2 separate regions of the Homo sapiens genome follow, and region 1 is linked to region 2. Evidence: promoter capture Hi-C in 16 types of primary human blood cells and fetal thymus (Javierre and others, 2016). All regions are on one chromosome and are shown on one strand. The core of a region is centred on a gene start or on the middle of the fragment in contact, and the rest is flanking DNA. Distances in the headings are between cores, read along the strand shown. Region 1 holds the start of SEPSECS (Sep (O-phosphoserine) tRNA:Sec (selenocysteine) tRNA synthase). Region 2 holds the start of PACRGL (parkin coregulated like).

Evidence for each region. Contacts are between HindIII fragments. The CHiCAGO score rates a contact against its expected background, and 5 or more counts as called.
Region 1: the fragment with the promoter of SEPSECS here is called in contact with a fragment that was not itself captured in region 2 in 1 of 17 cell types (fetal thymus); the score reaches 7.4 in fetal thymus.

The regions. Positions count from the first base shown.
Region 1 is chr4:25,156,654-25,164,295 of GRCh38, forward strand. It overlaps SEPSECS (Sep (O-phosphoserine) tRNA:Sec (selenocysteine) tRNA synthase), which reads right to left and starts at 3,796. Exons shown (of 11, transcript NM_016955.4): 1 at 3,603-3,796; 2 at 2,300-2,454; 3 at 203-321. The coding sequence starts at 3,716. SEPSECS-DT (SEPSECS divergent transcript) reads left to right here and starts at 4,019. Exons shown (of 2, transcript NR_037934.1): 1 at 4,019-4,100. RefSeq lists a silencer at 3,480-3,649 and an enhancer at 3,760-4,059. The HindIII fragment of the contact is 2,962 bases long and covers 1,776-4,737 here.
Region 2 is chr4:20,700,050-20,707,295 of GRCh38, forward strand. It overlaps PACRGL (parkin coregulated like), which reads left to right and starts at 409. Exons shown (of 9, transcript NM_001258345.3): 1 at 409-738; 2 at 4,417-4,484; 3 at 4,611-4,765. The coding sequence starts at 4,433. RefSeq lists an enhancer at 522-641. The HindIII fragment of the contact is 483 bases long and covers 2,906-3,388 here.

The sequences.
Region 1 (7,642 bases), core at 2,546-5,045, 4.5 Mb after region 2:
GCCGAGATCGCGCCACTGCATTCCAGCCTGGGCAACAGAGCTAGACTCCGTCTCAAAAAAAAAAAAAAAAAAAAAAAAAAAAGAAGTCTTTTCAAAAGCCACTCATACTCTTTTTGGAAAGGGGCAATAATAAATGAAATGAGTCAGTGGTGTGTGTGTGTGTCCAGACAGCCAAAAGCATTATGATTAAGACGGTACATACCAGCCAGCTTTATAATGTCCAGGACCAAAGAATTGGTAATTTTGTTCAAAAGGCTAGAGCCTGCAGCTTTTGGTTGCACAGCAGAAATATCACCGGATCGTCCAATGCCATGAATGAACCTAAGCAAAAAATGGGCCAAAAACTGGACAAATACATTCAGCATTCCGAGTAATACAATGTACAAATATGCAAATGTAATAACCAAAAAAACACCAGGAGCAATATTTGGCTGTTACAGATATATGTCACAAACTATTAATGATGTGGAACTCTCCTACTTAAATTGAAATAATTTCATCAATTATGCTGTGATAGCTAGTTTCCAAAGACGGCCACCATCAATTCTTTTTCTCCCTATGCCCACATGCTACTCCCACACCAAGAGATGGAGTCTACTTCCTCTCCACTTGAATCTGGGCTGAATTTAGTAACTTGCTTGGCCAGGAAGAATCTAGCAGAAGTAACTGTGTGAAATTTTCATGCTAGGCAAACCTTCAGATGACTAAACTCTCAGCCAGTATCTGACTGCAACTACATGACAGACCCAAAGCAATACTCACCCTGCTGAGCCCAGTTAATCCAAAAAGCTATGAGAGGTAACAATAAATGTTTTAAGCCACTTAATTTTAGGGTGGTTTGTTCTGTAGCAATAGAAAACTAGAATACATGAAATATTAAATTATCTTTTTTTTTTTTTTTTTCGTTTTGAGACGGAGTCTCGCTCTGTCGCCCAGGCTGGAGTGCAGTGGCGCGATCTCGGCTCATTGCAAGCTCCACCTCCCAGGTTCCCGCCATTCTCCTGCCTCAGCCTCCCGTGTAGCTGGGACTACAGGCGCCCGCCACCACGCCCGGCTAATTTTTTTGTATTTTTAGTAGAGACGGGGTTTCACCATGTTAGCCAGGATGGTGTGGATCTCCTGACCTCGTGATCCGCCCGCCTTGGCCTCCCAAAGTGCTGAGATTACCGGCGTGAGCCACCGTGCCCGGCCAAATTATCTTTTTTCTTTACTTTTCCCCTAATTCCACACTGGGCTAAGTTCCAATGATGGTTCAAATATTGCCTTAATTTTAAAAGAACTATATGCTCCTAGAAAATCAGTGTGCAAATCTCATTTTAAATTAGACAATATTATACATTGTTTAAAGATACCTCTCAATACTCTTTAAAATAAAAAACCCTTTCGTAATTTGAGTAATTTCTAATTGACAGTCAAATATATCAGAAATTCGGTATAGGAGGATTATCGAAGAATACTAGTGCTGTACTTCCTCACCACTGAAATCTCATGTACAAAACATTTCTTACATATATTATCAACCATGTTATCAGCAAACTGTTAACTGAAATTTTCATCCAAGTTAGGCATTATCATCAGTTTTGACTGCAGTGGTTTTTACTGAAATACAAATTCTACGATGCCCAGGAAATTTTCATTATAATGTAAAAGCATGGAAGACAGGAGTTTCATTTAAAAGAGTTTACACTTCACAGAAAGGTTAGTGGACAGAGCAATGAGTGATCATATTAACTACCAATTAACTACCAATTAAATCGTTATCAGAATTGATGAAAAGCTTTCTGCAATAATGCAAAAGAAAAAGGTCACTTAATAATCTAATACACCTTTCCCTGTATCTATTGCAACAGAGGTATTTATAAAATGAGATTCAGTTTAAACACAGTTTAAAACAAAATTTAAAGTTGATAACTATAAATCATTCAAAAAAAAAAAACACTACAAATGTTAGAAAAGAAATATGGAAAGCTATAAACAACCTTAATGGATTTTGAACTCTTACAACCAGATATGTTTATTAGGGTAACCGTTCCTAAGAAAACGTATAGCCTGTGTTAGTCACCCAGAACCTGACAGGGTAACCCCCACTTAGTTTTTACTCTATTGTCTTTGAAAAGCACCTGCTGAGATAAAATTGTTTCCATCTCCCTGTTGCATTTGGCTTACATATCCATTAGAGCAGGGAAGAAGTGGTTTACAAACTGACATTTGATAATCTAATAAGATAAATACTGCTGCCATTATTTTGAACCAAAAATAAATAAACGATGTATCTCCTGTACTACTTAAAAAAAGATACCTGTAATGACGACGAGCAACCAGTGCGGATGCCACTCTCCCTTCCCTTTCTCCCACACCACAATTGCCTAAGAAATTGTTGCTGTCCATGATTGCAAGTTCATGTAAAAAGAGTTCAAGTGTACTTTCATCCCAGCCATTCTCTGGACACTTGCCCTTAAAAAAAAAAAAAAACTTATGATTATATTTAATAAAACTACCGTTCTCTAGAATACTACAGGAATACAGTTTTTCTTTTTAACGTGTATTTTGCCACGCTGCTTGTTTTCTAAAATTCAAGCATAAATTCACCACTGTATAGAGACCGCAAAGAGGCAAAACGTTTGTACATTTGATTACAATTATTTACAGATTTCGAGAAGTGATGATAAATGCATACAATGAGGTTTACTGAGATATTTAAATTTCCGTAAGTGAAACTAACTGAAAACCAATACAACACATCCCCAGTGAAGATGCTTCAAACCAGGGCGTTACGACTGGGGCGGTGGGACGTGGAGAAGGGCGGTAGTTGTCAAACTTCAGTGAAATTTTGGCCACGCGCTGTAGCTCACTCACGCCTGTAATCCGAGCACTTTGGAAGGCCAAGAATGGCCGATCACTTGAAGTCAGGAGTTTGAGATCAGCCTGGCCAACATGGTGAAACCCCATCTCTACTAAAAATACAAACATTAACCGGGTGTGGTGGCGGGCGCCTGTAGTCCCAGCTACTCGGGAGGCTGAGGCAGGCGAATGGCGTGAACCCGGGAGGCGGAGGCTGCAGTGAGCCGAGATCGTCACACTGCATTCCAGCCTGGGCGAAAGAGCGAGACTCTGTTTCAAAAAAACAAAACACAACAAAACTTTTAATGAAATTAAAATACATGAACGCTGGCAGGAGGGAGACCTGTGAAGTTCCGCGGAAAGCTCGTGGTTCGAGTTAGCATACAGTCTACAAACACCATTATGTGTTCTGAGTCGTTGAGGGTTGGTGAAAGATGGAGGTGCGAACTTTGCCCTTTCCGCGAATAAAAAAGTACACTGGGACTTTCCCTCACTTCCGCATCCCGAAGTTAGAAACAGCGGGACTCAAAACCCCGACCCCAACACCCCCTCCTAACAACACCATTTGGCTTTCACTGGCTTTGGCAAGGCTGAGAAGGCACAGACCGCAGTCGGTCAGCTAGGGCAAGCCAAGCTGAGACAGACTTGGGACTAGTCTCAAGCAGCGAAGAGCTGCCGGTGAGGCAGCACCAGCGGGGACGCCCGGCGGAGCCAGAGCCCCGGGGTCGCGGCGGCTGGGGAGGGGACCGACAGCTCGGTACCTTCTCCAGAAGCAGCCGTATGAGGTGCTCATGCGAGCGGCGGGCCTCACAGCCCTGCCGCACGTAAGCCGGCGACACCAGCCGCTCTCCCGCCGCGAAGCTCTCGCGGTTCATGACAGCGGTGGCGACAGTGGCGAATAAGCGGGAGCACTAGCTCCACACGCCAGACACACGACGGAACCAGAATGCAACTCGCCGCCTGGACGGTACGGCAGCGCCTTGGGACAAAAAACAAAACAAAACAAAACAAAACAAAAAAAACACTTCTCGTTCGTGCACATGCGCAGACCTTCTCAGATGGCGCTCCAGGAGGAAGTTGGCGTATTTGAGCATGCGCGAGGGAGTCCGCGCTTTTCGCTGACTTTTGGCAAAGGAAGGACTGAAATTAGCCCCGCCCCGCTGCGGCTGATTCGTCTAGTTAAACCCTGGTGTTCCTGACACAAACTTCAGGAAAGGATTTTGCACTTGTGCAGACCGGGCGAGCAGAGTAAGAAGCAGGTACGTGGGTTTTTCCAAGTTCTGTGTTTCAGTCCTGTTGGATGGTTGAGATCTGTGCAGGGTCTGTGCTTCCGCCTTATTCAAACTGTCAGATGCCAGAACCTTCGATCTTTACTTTGATACATTTCCACACTTATTACTGCCTCACAACCCCATAGGAAATAGCAGTGCCCCACTCATTTTCCCCTTGACACTACTGTTTAGCCATAGCACTTACTACTCACCACGTGACATGCCAGACGTTTGTTTATACACACACACACACACACCCATACCCATGAATGTAAACTCTCTAACCTAACGGCAGGACCTCGGTTTTTGCTGCGGTGCCCCCTTCCCCCGGGCACCTAAAACAGTGCCCAGAATAAAGTAGGGCCTAAAAAAAAAGTTGATATTGAATTAATGAATTAGTTTGACCATTCTGAAACTATCCCCAAGAACATTTTGTAAAATTGATTAAGGAGGGGAAAAAAATCCAACTAGGCTTACAGCTGCTGTTATTAAGCCAGCTTGCAGTGTGGCCGACTTTCTTGTAGCTGGTTGCTACTTACTACCCCAGGAGAATGTGGCCCTTGTCACAAGACTCTTCATTCTTTTTCTGCTCTGAAGATAAAATCTAAGACATTATGAGAAGATAAGCTTTCTGTTTGCATTGCTTCTTTAGGTCCCGCATACCAACAAAACTAAGGACGCCAACTTGTCTGGAAGGCCCAATAAAAAGCTGATTCATGGAGGAATGCAATTGTCACATCCTAATGATTTCATCTCCCTTACCCCAACGAATCGATAACCCCAAATTTTCCAGCCCCTCACCCTCCACAAATCCCCTTAAAAAACTTTGCCTAGAACCCCTTGATGAAATGGATTGAAGCTTGAGAACTCTTCCTGTTTCCTGGCTTGTAACTTGTGATTATTAAAACTTTCTCTGCTGCAAGCCTGCTGTCGGAATACTGGTCTGTTTCTGCACAGCCGGCATAGGAACCTGGCAGTGCTGTAACAGTTCAACAACTTAGAGGTTCACTGCTGGAGATCCCTGCCTCCAGTTTCCTTACAATCTTCATCTTATGTGAGCCTACAGTAATTCCTGACATTGCTTTCACCTGGTGGTTTGTCCATTTGCACTGAGTCACACCCACTTGCAAGAGCTGATTGTTAAATGTTCAGTAATTTTGTGAGCTAGTTTTCAAATACAGCCACTCAAAAATTATATTACAAGCAAAAGTAAAAATACTCAAAATTTGTCACTTCCTAATTATTTTACATTTTACTATTATCTATGCTCTTCAGGTTATTTACATGCATTTTATCTATATGGTGGAAATTCAATGTAATGTTATACTACTGCACATCTTCCAACTCCTCTTTTGATGATGTCACGTTGGCCATGGTGGGAGCATTTACACCATGGAAATCAGTAAACACCGCTAATCAGGCCCTTACACTCCAACCCACTCCCCTAGAAGTCAGTTGTTCAACATGTACCAGCTCATCACTGTTTCTACTGCATGTTCCCATGGCATCCAGCTATTAATATAAATCAGTCTATTTATGGTATTTGTTGAATTGCATTTCAATTGTTAATTTTCTGTCTCAACTAGACTGTGAACTCCTGGTTCACAAGGGCTATACCAATATCTGTGTTCAAAGCACAGCACTAAATACATAATAGCTGTTTGATAAATATTTGTTGAATGACATAGAGCATTTAACTACTTTAAACAGAAAGGTAAACCACAAAACAACAAGAATTTAGCATACTTTCTAAAATGAGTATTTTTCAAACTTTTGGAAAGTTGTGTTCCTATTCTCAAAATGCAACTATTTTTGCAACTTCTTCTTTGGAAAAGCCTTCAAAGCTGCTTTGTCAATCACATGCAAAATGTGCAAAAATCCCAAAATTAATGTCATTACTGAATGGACACGCCAGGTTTTTGAGCCAGCTTCTTCTCTTACCTTATTCACCACCTTACTTCAGAAAAATGTTTGTCTGTTTCCAAAAAGTTAGTCATTGTCAAGATATGCATTCATTAAAGGTATTCAAAAGATACCAGCTTTGGAAGCAATTTCAAGAGAAGTATTCTAAAATTACTTTCATCCATTCACTCACCCAACAAGTATTTATCCATATGCCCATTTTACAGATCAGGAAAGCAAAGCTCAAGAAGTTTGAGTAATGTATTTAAGGTTATACAATGAGTGACACTAGCAGAATTTAAACCTGTGTGTTCTGGACCTATTTTAAATGATGCTATCTATTAAAAATAGTATGTAATTATTATTTTAAAATAGTAGTTTGTAACTACTATTTTAAAATAGTATGTAATTACTATTTTTAATAATAGTATGTAATTACTATTTTTAATAGGGCAACATCAGAATAACCTCATGGTCTTTACAAGATGAAGCATCATTTAAAATAGGTCCAGAACACACAGGTTTAAATTCTGCTAGGGTCACTAGTTGTATAACCTTAAATACATTACTCAAACTTCCTGAGCTTTGCTTTATCTGTAAAATGGGGATATGGAAGAGGCAGTTATGATGATTAAATGAGAGGTAATTGCTCAATGACATCTTCCCCTAGATAGACTGACTATACAAATGGACAATGGCCAGATCATATGTGATAACAGAACTCTCACCCACAACCTCTCTAGCAACTAGACTTCCAAACCACCACCTCTGCAGCAATCAGCCAAGAATGGTTAAGACTTGGGCAATGACTGCCAGCTTCCCTCTTTTATTACTCGCTTCTAACTTAAGACCAACCAGAGAAAGCTAAATATCCTCCTTAAATTACATAAGATGCCCTGTTTCTAGTTAGCCAACCTCTAGCTTCTCCTTGCCAACACCTCCAATCGGCACACCTGAATTCTTCCCTGTACCTGAATCTTTCACTATAAAGCTTTCCCACTCCCCTGCCTGCCTTTGAGACTCTTGACAAATGTAAATGATGGTGACTGACTCCCTTCTCTAGCACGCTCTGAATTTCCAGTTTTCCTGGAGACTTCACTGAGACATGGTCTGTGCTGTCCATGGCGGTGGACCTCAGCCTTTGGCCAGTTGTGGTGCCCACAGGGGCTCCTCGTGCCTTGTTGCTTATGGCTTGTCAAGTCCATGCCAACATGGTAAGTCAGTGCTGGCTTGGAACTCCTCCCTGTTTGCCTTGAGTTCCTAAGCTATTCATTTGAAGTTTGGTACTCAGATTTTGTTACTGGTTCCTATTTGCATCCTTAGTGGAATCAGGCAATTCCTTTTCATCCTTTGTGCTGTCCTTTGTACTTCTGTTTTGTATTGTGCTATCTAAAAGTGTTATTTTCCATAAGAAGGAGAATCATAGGGTAGAACATGGCCATGGGCCCTACAACCCTGTTGTTTAAGCCAGTTTCACAGACCGATGAGTTTGCAGTTCTCACCAGACTACATCCGTTTGGACAAATTTTGTTGTGGGTCACCAATAAAACTGGATGAAGTTCTCCCTTCATCTTGATTTTTTGTTCTGAGGGCTTGCTTTTGATCCAAAGAAAGAGGTCATTCTGATA
Region 2 (7,246 bases), core at 1,897-4,396:
CTCTCACCCCTGAAGACTCGGGGGGAGGAGTTCACAGTCTTCAGTTCTCCGAGTATTGAGGGTAAGATAGCTGAGGAACAATGAGTATTAAGTGTGCGAGAAAAGCGTTTAGGAGTTAAGCACATGGACTGAAGAGAGGCTAGGGCGCAGGCGACTGGGAACCCGTCATCGTCCCTCTGCTCTCCGGACCTCTTATTCGAAAAACATCCTCCACCACGTGCCCCTTTGTCGCCAGAGACAGCGCCTGCAGTGCGTGAGCTGCCCCCTGAACTCCTGGCGCCTGGTTGCCTGGGCAACCCTCTTCTGGGGCGCCTCCGCGACCTCTTACCATTGGTTTAGACGACGCAGCGTGCGTCTGACGTCATTGCGCGGCGCGACCAGGTTCAGGGGCGGGCCGCGCGGAGCCTCATTTCCCCAAACGCAGGCGCTCGGTGGCGGTAGCCGCGGTTGTTGGCCGACCGAGTGCCGGTCATAAGCCCCCCCCGGTGGGGGGCAGCTGGTGTGCGGATCGCGGCGGGAGAGAGGCGCGGTAGGAACGGGTCCCCGGAGCCGTGAACCGCGGGTACAGGTGTCCTGTCTGCGCTCTCTGCCAAGCCGGCTTGCTTCCTGATCTGTTGCTAGGGCCGCTGGACCCCGTTGCTAAGGACCCTTGAGATCGTGAGCGCTTGGAGTGTACCCCTCCTTTCCTGGGGTAGAGGGTCAGTCGAGAGTAGCCTTCGTTAACCTTAATTGAAACTGGTAAACTCCTCCCTCGGCCCCTTTAAAAAATCTCTGTTTTTTCTTTATTTTTTTTCTGTGTCTTCCTCTTTTGCTGACTTTGATAGCATCCTGGCTCTGGACTGGTCTTTAAGTATCTAGAAGTGAGTGTAGGAGGGGTGGCTGGGAAGGTGGAAAATAGATTCTAAGACCCCTAAGCAGATTGTGCGACCCTAATACTGGCCCTTTGAATTTACTTTCTGGTAAAAAAGGGACTGGGATAAGTGACTATTGGGCTCTGGGTCTTTTAGAATTTGACAGAGCTTTACAAATGGAACATGGTTTCTTTAGTGGGGCTCTTACTTACACGTTTGGAACTTTCTAGACCTGGATTAGAAAGCAGGGCTCTGCTGACTGAGAATTGTTTTAGTTCAGTGGTCTTAAAGCTGAGTACGGGAGAAAGTACATACAGGGAAAGAAATAGGCTATATCAGCTGCCCAAACAATGATAGAAAGTACACTTTCCTACCATTGACACAGATACCGGCAGTCCCTTGTAGATAGATGACCTGTAGCAACCAAGGAAGCTTTAAGGGGAATGTGTGGGCTTCATAGGGTGGTTTGTTTGCTTTCTGATATTGTGACATAGTTTAGGTGTTCGAAGTTAAGTGGATTTATGGATTCTAATATCTATAATTAGAATGTTTATCTTGTTTTGTAAAAGAATGAGCGGTGACCTTGATAATATTTGTAACACAAAATAGTTCTTACAGGTTCGCTTCTCCCCATCACTGCCCCTTTACACCATCCTCTACATGTTATTTAATGAAAAACCACTTGAAAGGGTTACCAAGGATAAGATTTTTAAAGCTTGCTTTCACAAACAACTCATGCTCCAGGCTTGTCAGTGGCATGCTTCCAGGTGGATATTATTTTAAAAAATTGACTACATTTCCCGTCGTCCCTTGGTGTCCGTGGAGAATTGGCTCCAGGACTCCCTCCCTCCCCCCAGTCTCTTTCAGATACCCAAATCCACCCATGCCAAAGTCCTCCAGTCTGCTCTCCGTATCCGTGGTTGGGTCAAATCTATAGATGTGGAACCCGCATATACGGAGAGCCAACTGTAATTTGTCGTTAAGGTAAAGGATAAAAATTTTAAGTGAAAAAGCAATTGTTTTGGAAGGAAATTCTCTAATACAGGATTTTGAAAGGGGATGTAGACGTGTTTGCATTACTGTATGTTTAATGCTGAAAATTATATATTGTACATAAAAGTTGTCCTGTATACTCATAAACTGTAGAAGCTCGATTTTCTACCATGTTTAAAACTTTTTCAAATGAGTTTTGGTGACTTTTTGAACTCATTCAAAATATAATGCAACACCTCCCCATTAGTTTGTTACAGGAACAACTTTTTGACGTGAAGGAAGATAGAAATTTAGCCATAAAATTCCATCCAAAACTTCCACTGAATTGGTAGGTAGTATTGAAAAATGTGCATCATAATTTGATATGGCTGCCTGTGCCCTTGTTATGTTTGTGGGTACGCGTCTTTGCTGTGCATCGCTTTTATCTGTTGCAGCTGTTAACAATTGATGATCAAGAGAAATTGGACCTCAGCTGGTCTTCAAATTGATGTAGCCCAAGATGTTAAGCCAGATTTTTTAAAAATGACAAAACATGTGGTTTCACTATTAGTAATAGTAATACTGAAGAACACTTTGTACCATTGTAAAGAAAATTATAATAATAGCTAAGACTCATGTGGCCCTTACTGCATGCCTCCCATTATGGAAATGTTGTTTTACATATATTCTTACTAGTCTTCATCAACACTTAAAGTAGTTCCTGTAATTATGCCCAATTATAGAGTTGAGGAAACTGATGCATTTTTTTTTTCAATAGAAACTTGTGTTGTTCCCCCTCCAGGAGCTTCTCAAAACAGAAGTCAGGCACAATATTAAATACTTGTTGAATGATCACAGAAGTACAATAGTAGGTTAACATATTTAAAGCTTCTCTCAGCTTATTTTAGACTATTATCTGACAACTTTAATGAGATTTTAATTACCGTAGTATTAGAAAATGGCCCTGGGAATGGAGGTGAAGTGTGATACTGGGAAGTAAGTCATCTGCTGGTAGTGGGATGAGATAAATGAGATCAATGTACTAAATCAAGGAAATTGAAATTATTCAGTGTGCAGAAGCAAGCTTACATTTAGGTTATCTTTACATGGTATCAGACTTTAAGCTGGTACATCATGTTTGAGATATCTGGCTAAATTTTATAACATGGAGCTTTGTCCTCCTTTTGAGGATTTCTAACTTGTTAAGTGGATTAAAAGCATTTCATGTGAGGAATCATTTTAAAAAGTATCAGTGTTTATCCTGAAGAAGAAAAAATGAAGGAGTTAAGAGTTAATGCCATCAAATATTTGAAAAAGTGTCATTTGGAGGTGGAAGAGGACTTTACCTGTGTTGTCCTAAGGGAAGATCTTACACTATACTTGAGAGGCAGTCATTATTAAAGGCATTAAAATGAGACGTGTGCTAATAGAATAACTAGATTGTCGTGGAAGTGAGGGAACAGAGTAATCAAGTAGAAATAAGGACACAGGATAGAAATCAATGCCATAGAAATACACATTTGAGAAACCAAGATGAGGAAAGGCTTCATGGAAGTTGGGAATGAAGCTTGGCCTAAAAATACCAGTAGGCACTTGGGTATATGAGTGTGTGTGTGTGTGTGTGTGTGTGTGTGTGTGTTTGTGTGTGTGTATTTCTTGCTAGAGATACAATTGTAGAAATTGATTGGATTAGCTGGAAACCTTGGGGTATGAACTAGAGTCCTCCATTAGCAGAAAAAAAGCAACTGTGTAAGGGAAAAGTGAACCAGTATTCCCTGGGTGAGTAACTTGAGAGATAATTTCATTTGCACCTCCAGAAAACCTTGACAGGCTTTTATTTCCCTCTTTAAACAGGTCAGGAAGTCGAGGTTTAGGGAGGTTAAATAATCTGCCTAAATTCATAAATTTCATAATTGGTAGAACTGAGATGCAGACCCATATTTGAGCCCAAAGCTCTTTCTTTCTCATCACGTGTAGCATTGAGTGTAGGAAATGAAGGAAAAGGAGACAATGGTGATTCTAAGTTTTTCAGTCTGAGGACCAGAAAACTGGTGGTACCCTGGGTTAACAAGGGGTTCATAATAACTTCAGTGTGACAACCTCAGTTTTAGTTACATTCAGTTTAAGGAGCTTGTGATACATTGGGTAGGAGAGTTCATTATGTCACTGGAAAAGTAGAGCTTGATGTGCACATGTTAACATTTGGAGCTTTGGAAATACAGAGGCCAGAGAAGATGGAGAAGATGACAGGGAATGTACCAACCACTCCTTTCAGAAATCTAGTCTGTGTTTTCTAATGTGGTCAGAGAATTGGAAGTGAGTTTCTAACAGTTTATTTTGACAATTTGAATGGAAAAAAAGTTGACTTTTGTACATCATTTCTTGGAGATGATTATTTTGCTGTTATTGATACTATTGAAGTTGACATAATTTCATGTTTTCTCATTAGTCTTTTCCAGTATTTTGCTCCATATCAACTTTTTTGTGTGTCTTTTACTGTATTGTATACTCTGTTCTGGTTTTGTCTTTTTATTGATAACAAATGCCCCTCCAAACAAATTTTGAAATCAACTTTTTTTTTTTTAAACTGCAGGAGTGAAAGGGAAGCAATGCAGAAATCAGAGGGCTCTGGAGGTACACAGTTGAAAAACAGAGCAACAGGTACAGAGCTTTTGTTTTTAAGTGAAGAGGTCAAGTTTGTTCATGGCACTTTCTGTGCTACAGATGGATGCAGGGTGAACTTTATTGCTTGTACCTGGTTTCTATTGATGTTCTGTTTTTTTCCAGGTAACTATGATCAAAGGACATCATCAAGCACACAGTTAAAACACAGGAATGCAGTTCAGGGAAGCAAATCCTCATTGTCAACCAGTTCTCCAGAGTCTGCAAGAAAACTTCATCCTAGACCAAGTGATAAACTGAACCCTAAAACAATTAATCCGGTAGGTCCAAAACTATTCCTAACTCAGTAGATTTTTTAAAGGCATTTCGCACAGTATTGAACAATGCTGGATGCTGTGTTGAGTTTTGTCCCTTTGCTAGTTTTGAGCTAATAATGAGAGAAGGGCATGTGGTTATTATGATGAAGAACTGAGATAATCAGTCACATGTGGGAGTGAGTATGGAGGTAAGGAGACATAGAAGTTAACCTGTTTGGGATATCGCATTGTAGTGCATAGAAAATTGCACTTTAGCTTTAGATTTTATTTGCAGTGTTGTTTTACTTCCCCATATCAATGAATAAACTGTATTCAGTTGCCACAGAATGCTTTTCGTGCTTCTATAGTTGCATAAAGGTCTCTGACCTTTCCTGTGTTCTGTAAATTAGTTCCACCAGAAATCCTAGTTGTAGTACTAACCTCCTTTGCCCTCTCCTAACAATTTAATGAGATTTAATAAACATGGGATTTATGCAGTAAAAATATTCAGAAGTGAACACACCTGTGCAACAACACCAGGTGTTATTTGCCCCATGCCCAACTTTGGTAGGGTGAGATGTTAGTGATTTCAGCCTTCGAAGGGGATTGTGAGGGTGGCTGAAGCTCCTGACTGACTGTGGTGGTAGGTAGGGGTATGGCAGTTACTTAAGGAAGCAAAGGTATAGTGAGCTCTCCAAGACAGAAGGAGTGTCCGACTGGATAAAAGCAAAGTGACAAATAGTTTGAGCGGCTATGTTCCTTTGCTTTTTTCTGTAATCTACAGTGTCAAGGAAATTGAATACCTGAAGAAGGCCCTAATAATCTTGTTGCTCTCACTTCCTTTGCTTATGTTTAGTTGAGGGAGTTTACGGTGACGCTTCAATTTTCTTCCTCTCTTTAAAGAAGTACTTTTTGAATTAATAATATTTAGTGACCTTAGTCCTAAGTTTTAGTAAAAATCGAGGAAAGTTTTGGGAAATAGTTAAATAATTTGACCCGAGAAAAGCATGTGTAAAAGCTACCAATATAAAACAAATGAGTTGGAAGTCAGAATAATGTTCACCTTTGGGGCGAAAGGTGGGCAGGGATTTGGGAGAGGCAGTGGAGGCATCTAGTGTGCTGGAAACTTTCAGATTTTTCAACTCTGTTGATAAACAGGTGTGTTCATTTTTTGTGAATTCACTATTGTGATTTATGCACATTAATATTTTAAATATTTGAGTTAAAAAATTTTTTGAAACGCTAATTCAGTGTAGTATAGTATATAACATTAATACAGAGTTGAAATATGGTCTGAAATTGTTAAAAATTGAATGGGATAACATTTTTCACTTTAGACTTGGTAAAATTTGGTTAAAATCGATAAAAGTAATCTATTCATAAAAAATTCTGATTTTGTGGAACATGGAAGATGAAACCATGATTATCTCTAGAATAAAATTGAAAGGCAAAGAAAGGAATTGTTTAGCATTTCAATCAGAAATTTAGTCTTTGTGGGTATATTGAAATTTTAGGGATTATTTTCATGACCTGTAAGGGCCAAAAAGAAAGATCATTTGCTTGTAGATGGTAGAAGTCAAATATGTTGATAGTATAGTACTAATTTGTCTTAATTTTTTCTCCAATATGTGTAGCACTTTTTCAAACAACTTTCTTATCGGATATGCTTGTTACTTGAAAATAATTTTTAAAACTTGTGTTTCTTTTATAGCAGAAATTATAACTAGATGAGTGAAACATTCCTCTTGTGAATTGTTACACATAACATGGATTGAATTTTGGAAATGAATCTTTTTTTTTTTTTGAGACGGAATCTCGCTCCGTCGCCAGGCTGGAGTGCAGTGGCACAATCTTGGTTCACTGCAAACTCCGCCTCCTGCATTCAAGCCATTCTCCTGCCTCAGCCTCCCGAGTAGCTGGGACTACAGGCACCCGCCACCATCCTGGCTAGTTTTTTGTATTTTTAGTAGAGATGGGGTTTCACCGTGTTAGCCAGGATGGTCTCGATCTCCTGACCTTGTGATCCACCCGCCTCAGCCTCCCAAAGTGCTGGGATTACAGGCTTGAGCCACTGCGCCTGGCCAGATATGAATCTTTTATTGTAATTTAATTTGAACGAATTTTCTCCTATGTGCTTTTACTCAAAACTCATGCTTTTCCAGAGGAAAAAAGAGCTGATTCTAAACTTTTTAAGCACATTTTAAAACTACCACTGTGTGTGACTTAAAAAAAATTATCTAGTTATATCTTTAAAACAGGTCAATTTATATTTTGTAATTTAGACAACTATTTTTCATTTGATTATATATTAAAAGTACCATGTGATAAAATATTTACTTTTTGTTCCTAAATCCTCTGTAAGTCTCTTATCAATTATATTGAAATTATTTATGCTGTAATTGTTTAACTGTTGTGATTGACCATCCCTTAAATCATCTTTAAGAGTAGGTATAAAATCAAGCTATTCATATATAGCAAAACTGAAAGGTTATGAAGTTATATATC